Linked DNA regions of Homo sapiens: regions 2, 3 and 4 are each linked to region 1. Evidence: promoter capture Hi-C in 16 types of primary human blood cells and fetal thymus (Javierre and others, 2016). All regions are on one chromosome and are shown on one strand. The core of a region is centred on a gene start or on the middle of the fragment in contact, and the rest is flanking DNA. Distances in the headings are between cores, read along the strand shown. Region 1 holds the start of VHL (von Hippel-Lindau tumor suppressor). Region 2 overlaps IL17RE (interleukin 17 receptor E). Region 3 overlaps ATP2B2 (ATPase plasma membrane Ca2+ transporting 2). Region 4 overlaps EMC3 (ER membrane protein complex subunit 3).

Region 1 (3,133 bases), core at 1-2,500:
TCTTACCTAGGGTTGGCTAGTTCCTACTCCATCCTGCTCTCTTCCTTCTCCGGGAAGTGCTCCTTAACTGAAACCACACAACCGCAACCCCTCCATCTCCCAGCAGGCAGGTAAGTCAATTTCCCACGCCACACACGGTCGGCTCTTCCGGCGCCAACATGACCCTGGCTTGTTCCTGTCTTTGCATCTGTCAGTCTCCCCAGGAGGAATGTGTTCTCCACGAGGGCAGGGACTACGCAGAACTGGCCCACTGGAGTCATGAGGACTGAACAGATGGGGTGTTAAGGATGCAGCTTTTCTTTGAGGGGAAAATACACGTGGGGTGGGGGACTGGGGGGAGCCACCTTCAAATGCAAACTATTCGGCCTTATAAAGAATGCTCTGGGCCGGGCGCGGAGGCTCATGCCCATAAGCCCAGCACTTTGGGAGGCCGAGGCGGGCGGATCACGAGGTCAGCAGTTCGAGACCAGCCTGACCAACATGGTGAAACCCCGTCTCTACTAAAAATATAAAAATCAGCCGGGCGCGGTGGCGCACGCCTGTAATCCCAGCTACTCAGGAGGCTGAGGCAGGAGAATCGCTTGAACCCGGGAGGCGGAGGCTGCAGTGAGTCGAGATCGCGCCACTGCACTCCAGCCTGGGCGACAGAGCGAGACTCCGTCTCAGAAAAAAAAAAAAAAAAAAAAGAATGCTCTGACGCTTACGAGCAGCGTCACCCTGGATGTGTCCTGCCTCAAGGGGCCTCAGTTCCCCGTCTGCAAAATGGACCCCGGGGCGGTAGAGGGGCTTCAGACCGTGCTATCGTCCCTGCTGGGTCGGGCCTAAGCGCCGGGCCCGTACCTCGGTAGCTGTGGATGCGGCGGCCCGTGCCAGGCGGCAGCGTTGGGTAGGGCTGCGGCTCGCCGTCGAAGTTGAGCCATACGGGCAGCACGACGCGCGGACTGCGATTGCAGAAGATGACCTGGGAGGGCTCGCGCGAGTTCACCGAGCGCAGCACGGGCCGCGGCCGCCCGGCCTCCATCTCCTCCTCGGCGCCCAGTTCCTCCGGGCCGGACTCTTCCGGGCCGGACTCCTCGGCGCCCGACTCCTCCCCGCCGTCTTCTTCAGGGCCGTACTCTTCGACGCCTGCCTCCTCCGCGCCTACCTCGGCCTCGTCCCAGTTCTCCGCCCTCCGGGGCATTCCCTCCGCGATCCAGACCACCCGGGCCGGACGCCGCGGGATCCGCGGGTCGGACGCGGGGCGGAGCTGCGTGCGCGCTCCCGAGTCGACCTCCGTAGTCTTCGCGCGCGCTCGGTAGAGGATGGAACGCGCTCGCGGAAATAGCCGGCCGGAGGCTGTGCGCGTGCGCAGAAGGATCCTCCAGCACCGTAGGCCGTTGTAACGGAGGCGAGGCTAGGCCAACTCGTTACTGTATTTCCACTATAAAATTTTTTTTCGCCCCTCTAAGGTTTGGTGTTTTTTTTTTTTTTGAGACAGGGTCTCACTCTGTCGCCCGGGCTGGAGTGCAGTGGCGCGAGCTTGGCTCACTGCAGCCTTGACCTCCCTGGCTCAAGCGATCGTCTCGCCTCAGCCTCCCGAGTAGTTGGTACTGTAGGCGCGCACCACCATGCCCGACTAATTATTTTTATTTGTTGTTTGAAACGGAGTCTCGCTATGTTGCCTAGGCTGGTCTCGAACTCCTGGGTTCAAGTGATCCTCCTGCCTTGGCCTCTCAAAGTGCAGGGATTACAGGCCTTAGCCACTGTGCCTGGTGGACTAACTGAATTTTTTTTTTCTTCATGTCAGACGCGCAATGTGCCGACGTCGTAACAAGGTTCGAGGGTGGCGCATCTCACACGGGAACACCCAATCATCACGCTTATAAAGTACAAAAAGTCAACTAACTGAATTCTTACAAGGCATGGGTGATTAGTAAAGAGGGAAAAATAATTAGACCTACTATGTGCAGAGCACTCTGGTGGAAATTGGAAAATCAGATATTTACTTCAGAGCAATTAAAACTACAAACATAAACACTCATTAACTTTGTTCATTTTACAAATATTTATTAAGGCCCTACTATGTACCACCTATGGTGATAAGTGTTGAAAATATTGTAAAAACCGGTCATGTTTCCTGCCTTCACTGCACTTCAATAAAAGCGTCATACGGTAATCAATCACACAAATAAAATAGCAACTATGGCCGGGTGCAGTGGCTCATGCCTGTAATCCCAGTACTTTGGGAGGCTGAAGTGGGCTGATCACAAGGTCAGGAGTTCTAGACCAGCCTGACAACATGGTGAAACCTCGTCTCTACTAAAAATACAAAAATTAGCCTGGCGTGGTGGTGCGCGCATGTAATCCCAGCTACTTAGGAGGCTGAGGCAGGAGAATTGCTTGAACCCGGGAGGCGGAGGTTGCAGTGAGCTGAGATTGTGCTACTGCACTGCAGCCTGGGTGACAGAATGAGACTCTGTCTCAAAAAAAAAAAAAAAAAAAGTGCAACTGTGACTAGTACGACAAAAAGAGACAGGGTACTATAGAAGGCTAAAGATCTGGGGGTCAAGGAAGATGGTACACAATTCTGTGTAATTAAATGTTCAATGATGTGGGATGGACTCAAGTGGAGAAGCAGCTCAGAAAAAGAAGGGTTCAGAGAGTTTTATATTAGTTAAAAATAATTTTTTTTTAGACAGTCTCGCTTTATCACCCAGGCTGGAGTGCAGTGGCTCAGTCTCAGCTCACTGCAACCTCCATCTGCCGAGTTCAAGTGATTATCGTGCCTCAGCCTCTGGAGTAGCTGGGATTACAGGTGTGTGCCACCACACCCAGGTAATTTTTGTACTTTTAGTAGAGACGGGGTTTCACCATGTTTGCCAGGCTGGTCTTGAACTCCTCACCTCAGGTAATCTGCCTGCCTTGGTTTTCCCAAGTGCTGGGATTACAGGTGTGAGCCACCGTGCCCAGCTCAAAAATAAATTTCAAGTAGAAAGAAAAAAATCTATCAAGTGCCAGACACTGTGCTAAGCATCCCACGTGAATTAAGGCTATGTCATTATCTCCATTTCACAGCTAAGGAAACAGAAGGGTATATAAGAATGTGAAGGCCTAGCACTATACGCCTGTAATCCCGAGATTTTGGGAGCCCAAG
Region 2 (3,096 bases), core at 597-3,096, 240 kb after region 1:
AGTTCAAGTGATTCTCCTGCCTCAGCCTCCCAAGTAGCTGGGATTACAGGCATGTGCCACCATGCCCGGCTAATTTTGTATCTTTAGTGGAGACGGGGTTTCTGCGTGTTGGTCAGGCTGGTCTCGAACTCCCAACCTCAGGTGATCCGCCCGCCTCGGCCTCCCAAAGTGCTGGGATTACAGGCATGAGCCGGCCTGATAGTAAGTCGTTTTAAATCAAGGAGGGTAAGGATGTCAAGCTTCTTTAATCTTGAAAATTATAAAGCAATCAAGAAAAGATTAATTTCTTAAGCAGAGAAAAAGCTATATATACAAAGATATTCATTTTAGCATTCTTTAATTTTTATTTTTTGGAGACGGAGCCTTGCTCTGTCACGCAGGCTGGAGTGCAGCGGCGCGATCTTGGCTCACTGCAATCTCCGCCTCCTGGCTTCAAGCGATTCTCCTGCCTCAGCCCCCAGAGTAGCTGGGACTACAGACGCCTGCCACCACGCCCAGCTAATTTTTTGTACTTTTAGTAGAGACGGGGTTTCACCATGTTAGCCAGGATGGTCTCGATCTCCTGATCTCAAGATCTGCCCACCTCAGCCTCCCAAAGTGCTGGGATTACAGGCGTGAGCCACCACGCCAGTCCCTGCCTCTCTCTCTTTTCTTTCTTTCCTTCATTCCTTCCTTTGTTCCTTCCTTCCTTCGTTCCTTCCTTCCTTCCTTCCTTTCTTGACAGGATTTTGCTCTGTCATGGAGGCTGGAGTGCAGTGGCACAATCACTGCTCACTGCAGTCTTGAACTCTTGGGCTTAAGCAATCCTCTCACCTCAGCCTCCTGAGTAGCTGGGATTACAGGCATGCACCATCACACCTGGCTAATTTTTGTATTTTTAGTAGAGACGGGGTTTCACCATGTTGGCCAGGCTGGTCTCAAACTCCTGACCTCAGGTGATCTGCCCGCCTCAGCCTCCCAAAGTACTGGGATTACCGGCATAAGCCACTGTGCCCAGCCCTGTAGCATTATTTCTAACAACAAACAATTAGAAAAATTAAACACTGCCTATTCTTTTTTTTTTTTTTTTTTTTTTTTTGAGACAGGGTCTCACACTGTCATCCAGGCTGGAGTGCAGTGGCGCTATCTTAACTCACTGCAACCTCCACCTCCTGAATTCAGGTGATCCTCCCACCTCAGCTTCCCAAGTAGCTGGGACTTCAGGTGTGCACTACCACATCCAGCTAATTTTTGTATTTTTTTGTAGAGATGGGGTTTGGCCATGTTGGCCAGGCTGGTCTCAAACTCCAGGACTCAAGCGATCCACCCACCTTGGCCTCCCAGAGTGCTGGGATTACAGGTGTGAACCATCATACCTGGCCCAGAAACTGCCAATTCTTTTTTTGGAGATGGAGTTTTGCTCTTGTCGCCCAGGCTGGAGTGCAATGGCATGATGTCGGCTCACTGCAACCTCCACCTCCTGGGTTCAAGTGATTTTCCTGCCTCAGCCTCCTGAGCAGCTGGGATTACAGGTGCCTGCCACCAGGCCCTGCTAATTTTTTGTATTTTTAGTGGAGACAGGGGTTTCACAATGTTGTCCAGACTGGTCTCGAATTCCTGACCTCAGGTGATCAGGCTGCTTCAGCCTCCCAAAGTGTTGGGATTACAGGCGTGAGCCACCGCGCCTGGCCTAGAAACTGCCAATTCTTAAGCAATGTAAGGGCATTTAGTATGTACCAGGCACTGAGCTGAGCAATTAAAATATAGAGTAAGAAAGAAGATCCTGCTCTACAAATAGATGGTAATAACAATAAATCCATAGCTTTTAATTCCAAGAATCTCAGCTGAAAAAAAACCTTCATAAAATTGTACAATTGTATTTGTGAATATCAGTCATAGCGTGCTATTTTAGGATAATCCAAGTCCCAGTTGAGGTTAAAACAAGACAAATATCTGTTCTAGTAAGTCCCACTTGCTCAGCCTAGGTGGTCCCTCAAAATGTTCTCTTCACTGAGAATGGCCCAAGGGGCTGTTTCTCATACCTGAGCCACCTGACAGCAGATGCTGGCACAAACAGCGGGAACAGTGCCAGACTCGCACACACCAAGGCTTTGTGGAGAAGAGGGCCCACCAGGTGCGGCAAGGGATATAGGCAGAACTTCCTGGGAAAGATGGAAGGGAAAGCAAATGATAGGGTCTAAGAAGGTCCCTCCTACCTCCAACAAGCTGGATTTGAGGCCAAGCTCTGTCACATCCTGGAAGTATGACTTTGGGGGTTACAGGACCTGTCTAAGGATCAGATTCCTCATTCATAAAGCGGGTCTGTTATAAAAATCAAAATTGTAGTGTATGGGAAAATGTCTTGTGAAGTAGAACATACCATAAAATAGGAAGGATTATTGTTGTATTACTGATAGAAGTGAGGGATCAGTTAAGGGGAGGAGCCAACATATATGGAGAACCTGGAGATTTACTCATGTTTCTCATCTAATCCTCTCTACAGATCAGAAGCAACACTGCCTTTAGTGTACAATCATTTCTACTATGCTACTACCCCTCAGAAACTGAGGGTCAGTTGGAGGGGTTAGGTGCACAGTCTGAGGCCACACGGGAGTCTGGCAGAACTGCAATGTGAACCCAGGCTTGTCATGATTCCAAATTTTTCCTTGATATTGTGCTACTTCCCGGGTTGGGAACTGAAAATTAGAATGGAGGGCTTGCTAGGCATCTGCAAAAATAGTGGGCGTGGGGAGGAGCAATGGGGCAGGAAATGCGACTCACCAGTGAAACTGTCATCCTGAGGCACAGGGCCCAGTAGGGAAAAGAAAGGAAAGAGCTATTATTAGGAGAGACTCCCATAAGGCACATTCCTGGGGTCTTTGCTTCAAATCAGCAAATTCTGAGCCCCATAGCTAATAGCCCATACCTTCTGGCTCTTATCTTCCCAGCTCCACCCTGTCCAGGCCCTCAGCACAAAGGACCTTGGCTACCCCTTTGAGACTAGGTAGAGGACACATCAAAGCTGCCACCAGAGCACAGGGACTGCGGAGGTAGCACAGGGCAGGCAGGGGAGTGGGGAGCTTTATGGCTGTGCCAGGCAGGTGTCCCTACCTGGCA
Region 3 (3,133 bases), core at 386-2,885, 190 kb before region 1:
AACTGAGGCCCCAGGACGTGTGGTTCACAACTGAGACAGAAAATGAAAGAACTTGCTGTTTTGTGACTCAGTTCCACACACCCCAGAATCCCACTGGGGCTGGGTTTGGCCATCTGATTCCAGCCTCGTTTTTTGGTTTTGTGTTTTCAAAGCACAAATAAAGAAATAAACAAAATCCCCCAGGAAATAAGAGACCCCAAAGCAAGCTCCAATAACTGGCCGGCCAGGGCTTTGAGTCTATACTCGAGTGTTTACCTCCCAAATGCATGAAGGAAAGAAACGCTGGGTACAAACGACCTCCGTTCACATTGTCCAGGCTTCCAAGTGTAGCCGTGTGTCTGTCTGTGTGTGCCATGTGGCTCCCGGCCTCCCCGTGGCATGCAGCCCGCCCCCGAATGTCATCTGTCCGCCAGCTCCCATGTGCTTTCTGGCTGCCTCTGCTCTGCACCTCAGAAAGCCCTGGGTTGGCTTTGGTTTGCTTTGCTGCCTTTGGTTTGATGTTCCCGTTCTGTTTGGCCCTCATGTGTCTCTCTCATCCCAACTCATCCAACCGTCTCTCCTTTCTGTGCCTTTTCTGTTTGTGACACGTAACATGTTCCATGTTGTATGGTTTCTTAACTGTGTGTGGTTTTCCTAAGATGAATTTTTTTAATAGCCTCTCCTCTTTCCTACTTGATTCCCACCTGGTCCTCCTCCCTGTCTGCATGGTTGAACCTCTGCTTTAAAGTGAACAAGGCTCAGTCTCTCACTAGGTGTGGGTGCCCGCAGGAGTCGACTGTGCTTCCTTTAACCACTGTTCCCCATCATCTCTTTGATGGTGCTTGGTGATTCCTCCTGTCCTAACACTAGTTTCTACCAAAACCAAAGAGATTTTTAAAAACCAGCTCAAGGATGCCTATAACCTGAGCCCCCTTTTTCACTCTCCCCCATCCTGTCAATGCTAATAACACCCAGCGACTATGGATTCCAGCCACCTGCTTTGCCCTAACCCTTCTCCCACCCGCCCCTCCTGTGAGCCCCCCGAGCCTGGCTGTGGTCCCTGGGCAGTGCTCCTGACCCCTGTGCTTCCCTTGCAGATCCGCGTCGTGAAGGCGTTCCGTAGCTCTCTCTATGAAGGTTTAGAAAAGCCTGAATCTCGAACCTCCATCCATAACTTCATGGCTCATCCTGAATTCCGGATCGAAGATTCCCAGCCCCACATCCCCCTCATTGATGACACCGACCTGGAAGAAGATGCCGCGCTCAAGCAGAACTCGAGCCCGCCGTCATCCCTCAACAAGAACAACAGCGCCATCGACAGTGGGATCAACCTGACGACCGACACAAGCAAATCAGCTACCTCTTCAAGTCCAGGGAGCCCCATCCACAGCCTGGAGACGTCGCTTTAGCTGAGGACCCTCTCGCCTGCCCGCCCGCCCTCATGGACCCCGCTGCCACCCGCTTTCCGGGCACCCATCCATCCAGGCACCCAACTCACCCAAGCAGCAACGAGCAACAATCGGAAACCAAATACTGGAGAGAAAACCAACGTTTCCACCCACAGACCCTTTCTCTGGCTGCGATGCTGTTTGAACTCTTTTTCACTTCAAGGCAAGGGGCGGGATCTCCACTGGGGGCTTACGGGAGTGAGCGGTTTTCCCAAAACAAGCCCTTCCTGGCTCCCACCCAGACATGGACCAGCCATGCACCCGCCCAGCCACCACGTCCCCCGCATGAATGTACTGTACACTTTCAATCCTCCCCTTGTTTGGTTTTTGGGGGTTGGGGAGGGGTTTTTGTTTGTTTGTTTGTTTTCTTAGGCGGGAACTGCAAACAGACTCTTTTCTGAGACTATTTATCCAATCCACTGGTCTGTGAGTTTTTGAAATGCTTGCACAGCATGGTCTCAGTTGTATAGATTAATTTAATAACTTTTTGAAATTGCAGAGCTTAACTCGCCTAGTAGATTTGCACCAATGGAACCGAAGAACTTCATAGACACTCACAAGGTTATATCCATTTCTTTGTATCTATATCAACGTATACTTTTCCGAGACTGTATACGTCCATATAGATAGGTAGATATATATATATATATATAAATATATATACATGGATATATAAAGTTTCTTTGCCGGCATGTTGCCTTGTTTCCGCTTAAATTGCTCTATTTTAACTTATTTATGTCCTAAAAGAAGAATGTAATTTGTTTACAAACCTGTAGATAACGTCTTTGGCTATTTGTATGGTTTAAGAACACTGGTGGCTGAGATGCTATAAAAACAGCTCGGCCCAACAGACACTTCCCCTGGGTTGCATCCTGGATGTTTTATGATAGCCATGCTCTGATTTTTGCCTGCTATTTCCGTTCAATAATGTCACTACCGTGAGAGGCTCAGGCAGAAGCCAAATGCTACCGAGTTGCCATCCTGAGGGGTTTAACAACATGCTCCGTAGACGAAGGGAGAGGAGGAGAGAAGGCTTCCTGGGTTTGCAACACTAACGGCCATCCGGCCCAAGGATGCCAGGATCTGCAAAGCACTGCTCGAAGACTTTTCTCTCAATGAAACTCGCTTGAGTTTACTAAGAGCATTTCAAAAATAGGTTCTCTTTGGCACTGTCTGTACAGAGATTGAGGTAGTGTTGAAATATTATAAATGGTATTGTGTTGATTTTTTTTTTTATTTAGTAACTTACAGGTTTGTTTCCTTATTAATGGCAGCATCTGAGCTGTTGGCATATTGGATGAGGATCAGTATGGCTTGCTGCTTTTATTTTTATTTTTGAAGAAGAATAGCCTTTTTCTCTGCACTATTTAGATCCGAATGAACCTTATGATGTGTATATTGAGATGTACTCAGTGTGATTTTAAACCAAATTGTCTTCCTGTAGTCACAATATATACTGTAGCCTTTTAACAGCAAGTCTTGCTTTCCCAAACAGAAAGCCATTCTGAAACCCTACAGTATCACAGGTGAGAAAAGGTGGTTATTTTTTCCCCAAGACAACAGCACTAGTAATCCCACTTAATAAGAGCTTATTTAATTGGATGTCAGCCTCTTAACTGCTAAGCACTTTGTGGGTCTCAGCGTTTTTCATAAAAGAACTTTTGTATTTAATACAAAGTTTGCTTTGAGACTTTTCAGCATATGAT
Region 4 (3,133 bases), core at 407-2,906, 170 kb after region 1:
AAAACTTCATGGGTTGGAGAAAAGCTTATTTATCTTTTCTCAGCATCCAGAGAGGCATGTGACTGAAATGCAGTCATGGACAGACGCGAGACTGGAACCTGAGTGTACAATTACCACTGTGGTGAGATCAGCAACATTGTATTCAGACAGGCCATTTACTTACCTGCAGCCTATGGAGTAACCAGAATAGACTCTTGCCCTTATGTGACCCACTTGTTGGAATGAGTGTGGATCTTTCCATTTATCTATCACTTCCCATATGCATTTTTGTTTTTAGTTTTTATTATATGCAAGCATATTTATTTTATGGAGGTTGAGTAGGAAACCTAAGCTAAAGGAAGCCTCAGTGATATAGTTCAAAACTTGGAATGGCTCTCCCAGTAGCTATAGTCCTCGGTACTGTATTTCCTGAAATCCATGTCTCATCCCTTCTTGTAAGTATGGAACACACCCAGTGGCTCACGCCTGTAATCCCAGCACTTTGGGAGGCTGAGGTGGGCGGATCACTTGAGGTCAGGAGTTCGAGACCAGCTTGGCCAACATGGTGAGACCCCATCTCTAATAAAAATATAAAAATTAGCCAGGCATGGTGGTGTGTGCCTGTAGTCCCAGCTACTCAGGAGGTTGAGGCAGGAGAATCTCTTGAACCCAGGTGGCAGAGGTTGCAGTGAGCCAAGATTGCGCCACTGCACTCCAGCCTGGGTAACAGGGTGAGACTCCGTCTCAAAAAAAAAAAAAGTATGGAACACACCAACACTTGTGATTTCCTCTAGGGAATGGAATTCAGAATGGGAGTCACCTTTGGATTTTTTGAAATATAGTTCTGTATTGGTGAGACTGCTTTAACAACTTGTATTTCTTCTGTGGTTGTGCTTTGGATGAATATAGCCCATCCAAGGTGACTTCTTTACAAACACTGAACAACTTTGGGTGGTAGGGAAGTGGGAACTGCATTACTCTCTGATATAATAACTAACCACACCATTTTCATTTTGCTTTGCCAGGGTGAGTTCTGCATCCTGGTACTTCCTCAATGTATTTGGGCTTCGGAGCATTTACTCTCTGATTCTGGGCCAAGATAATGGTAAGAAGCATGTCAGGTTTACTAAGCAAATACTTCCATAGATGAATCATCCATATTAGAGCCAGAAAAGTCTTGTAGGTTGTGCTGTTTGTTACCATAGTCAAATAAAATGTTTCCTTCCTTAAGTTTCTGAGGTATTCTGAAAGAGTCTTAAAAATTCCGGGGGTCAAACTGAAGATCTCAATTCTCTCTGGCAATGACTGGGACAGTATTTTGATTCCCCAGAGTCTGATACCATCATGTGAGGGATCCAGCACCAGCAGTGTAAGCCTGTGAACCTAAAGCTTAAAGAAGGCTTGGTTTGTCAGTTCATTGACTAGAGCCCTTGCCAGTACTAATCCTTGCTCTCTTGTTTACTGGCTGGGACCTCAGAAAAGTTACTTAACAAGTTACTTAACTTCGAATTCTCTATTTACTTATCTGTAAATAAGGACTTTATTAGTTAACCTGTGGGGTTGTTAGGAACAGATGAGGAAAAATATGCAAAGCACTTAGTGAAGTACTTGGCATGCAGTAGTTGCTCAATAACTGGTGGCTGTTATTGTTGAAATTTGAAATAAAGTTTAGAGCTTCCTTTAGTGATCTCTCTTTTGCTGTTACTGTCCCCATTTTTCAGGAGACACAAAGTGACTTTCCTAGAGTCACATAGCCAGTGGGTGACAGGGCCAGCCAGTGAGGCTGTAGTCCAGTTCTCTAATCTGTGTGAAGCCCATTCTTCCCCTTGGGTGCTGGGGTGCTTGCTGAGTCCTGGCACTCATGTAAGTGTGTCTTATGCTACAGCCGCTGACCAATCACGAATGATGCAGGAGCAGATGACGGGAGCAGCCATGGCCATGCCCGCAGACACAAACAAAGCTTTCAAGGTATACTCCTTCACCTTTCAAAGCTGCAGCAATGCTCTGAAAGGTGTTACCAAGAGCTATTTTAAAAATAGCTTCCTTGAAGGGAGTGTTGTGTGGTTCCATCGTTTTAATTTAAACTTAGTAAAAACATAGTTTACACGTCTCTCTTTCCTGAGACAGAATCATCTATTAAGTAAATGGAAATTCTTGGTGCTTTTACTGGTTTTTAAATGCTCACTGGAATTTAATCCACACTATCAATGATGCTGTAAAATAATCCAATCGGAGGTGCCAGGTAAACATTTAGAATAATTTGAACCTTTTTGAACCCCATAGACATCAGATATAAATTGCATTAAAAAAACAATACTAAGAGCCTTTTCACAAAAAGGTTCTAGAATTTGCAAAATTTAGTATGATTTTTGTGGGACAAAATCTCACTGTGTTTCATGATAGAAACTAAAAGAGAAGGGAAGTTCCGGCCAGGCACAGGGGCTCACACGTGTAATCCCAGCACTTTGGGAGGCCAAGGTGGGCAGATCACCTGAGTTCAGGAGTTCGACACCAGCCTGGACAACATGGTGAAACCCTGTCTCTATTAAAAATACAAAAATGGGCCAGGTGCGGTGGCTCACGCCTGTAATCCCAGCACTTTGGGAGGCCAAGGCAGGTGGGTCAGCTGAGGTCAGGAGTTCAAGACCAGCCTGGCCAACATGGTGAAACCTCTTTTCTACTAAAGATACAAAAAAAAAATTTGCTGGGCATGGTGGTGGGCACCTGTAATCCCAGTTACTTGGGAGGCTGAGACAGAATTGCTTGAACTCAGGAGGTGGAGTTTGCAGTGAGCTGAGATTGATTGCACCATTGCACTCCAGCCTGGGCAACAAGAGCAAAACTCTGTCTCAAAAAAAAAAAAAAAATACAAAAATGAGCTGGGCACGGTGGCATGTGCCTATAATCCCAGCCACCCAGGAGGCTGAGGCAGGAGAATCACTGGAACCTGGGAGGCGGAGGCTGTAGTGAGCCAAGATCGTGCCACTGCACTCCAGCCTGGATGACAGACCAAGATTCCGTCTCAAAAAAAAAAAGAGAGAAATTTCTCAGCCTGATAAAGGACATCTATGACAGACCCACAGCTAACATCATACTCAATGGTGAAAGACTGAAAGCTTTCCCTTTAAGATTAAGAACAAGACAAGGATGTCTG

The links. Contacts are between HindIII fragments. The CHiCAGO score rates a contact against its expected background, and 5 or more counts as called.
Region 2: a fragment that was not itself captured here is called in contact with the fragment with the promoter of VHL in region 1 in 3 of 17 cell types (total CD4 T cells, total B cells and activated CD4 T cells); the score reaches 5.4 in total CD4 T cells.
Region 3: a fragment that was not itself captured here is called in contact with the fragment with the promoter of VHL in region 1 in 1 of 17 cell types (neutrophils); the score reaches 5.7 in neutrophils.
Region 4: a contact is called between a fragment that was not itself captured here and the fragment with the promoter of VHL in region 1, in 1 of 17 cell types (activated CD4 T cells). The highest score is 5.8, in activated CD4 T cells.

What each region holds. Positions count from the first base shown.
Region 1 is chr3:10,139,895-10,143,027 of GRCh38, reverse strand. It overlaps VHL (von Hippel-Lindau tumor suppressor), which reads right to left and starts at 1,250. Exons shown (of 3, transcript NM_000551.4): 1 at 841-1,250. The coding sequence starts at 1,180. It also overlaps the pseudogene LOC124906359. RefSeq lists an enhancer at 1-333. The HindIII fragment of the contact is 16,438 bases long and covers 1-3,133 here.
Region 2 is chr3:9,903,077-9,906,172 of GRCh38, reverse strand. IL17RE (interleukin 17 receptor E) reads right to left here. Exons shown (of 16, transcript NM_153480.2): 2 at 2,761-2,776; 3 at 2,022-2,141. Among named protein-coding and RNA genes, the nearest start is that of IL17RE, 1.8 kb to the right of the region's middle. RefSeq lists an enhancer at 2,452-3,096. The HindIII fragment of the contact is 3,209 bases long and covers 242-3,096 here.
Region 3 is chr3:10,327,069-10,330,201 of GRCh38, reverse strand. ATP2B2 (ATPase plasma membrane Ca2+ transporting 2) reads left to right here. Exons shown (of 23, transcript NM_001001331.4): 23 at 1,077-3,133. The coding sequence ends at 1,388. Among named protein-coding and RNA genes, the nearest start is that of MIR378B, 1.6 kb to the left of the region's middle. RefSeq lists an enhancer at 1,370-1,918. The HindIII fragment of the contact is 4,701 bases long and covers 1-3,133 here.
Region 4 is chr3:9,968,533-9,971,665 of GRCh38, reverse strand. EMC3 (ER membrane protein complex subunit 3) reads left to right here. Exons shown (of 8, transcript NM_001394674.1): 6 at 1,005-1,084; 7 at 1,865-1,947. Among named protein-coding and RNA genes, the nearest start is that of EMC3, 17 kb to the left of the region's middle. The HindIII fragment of the contact is 571 bases long and covers 1,371-1,941 here.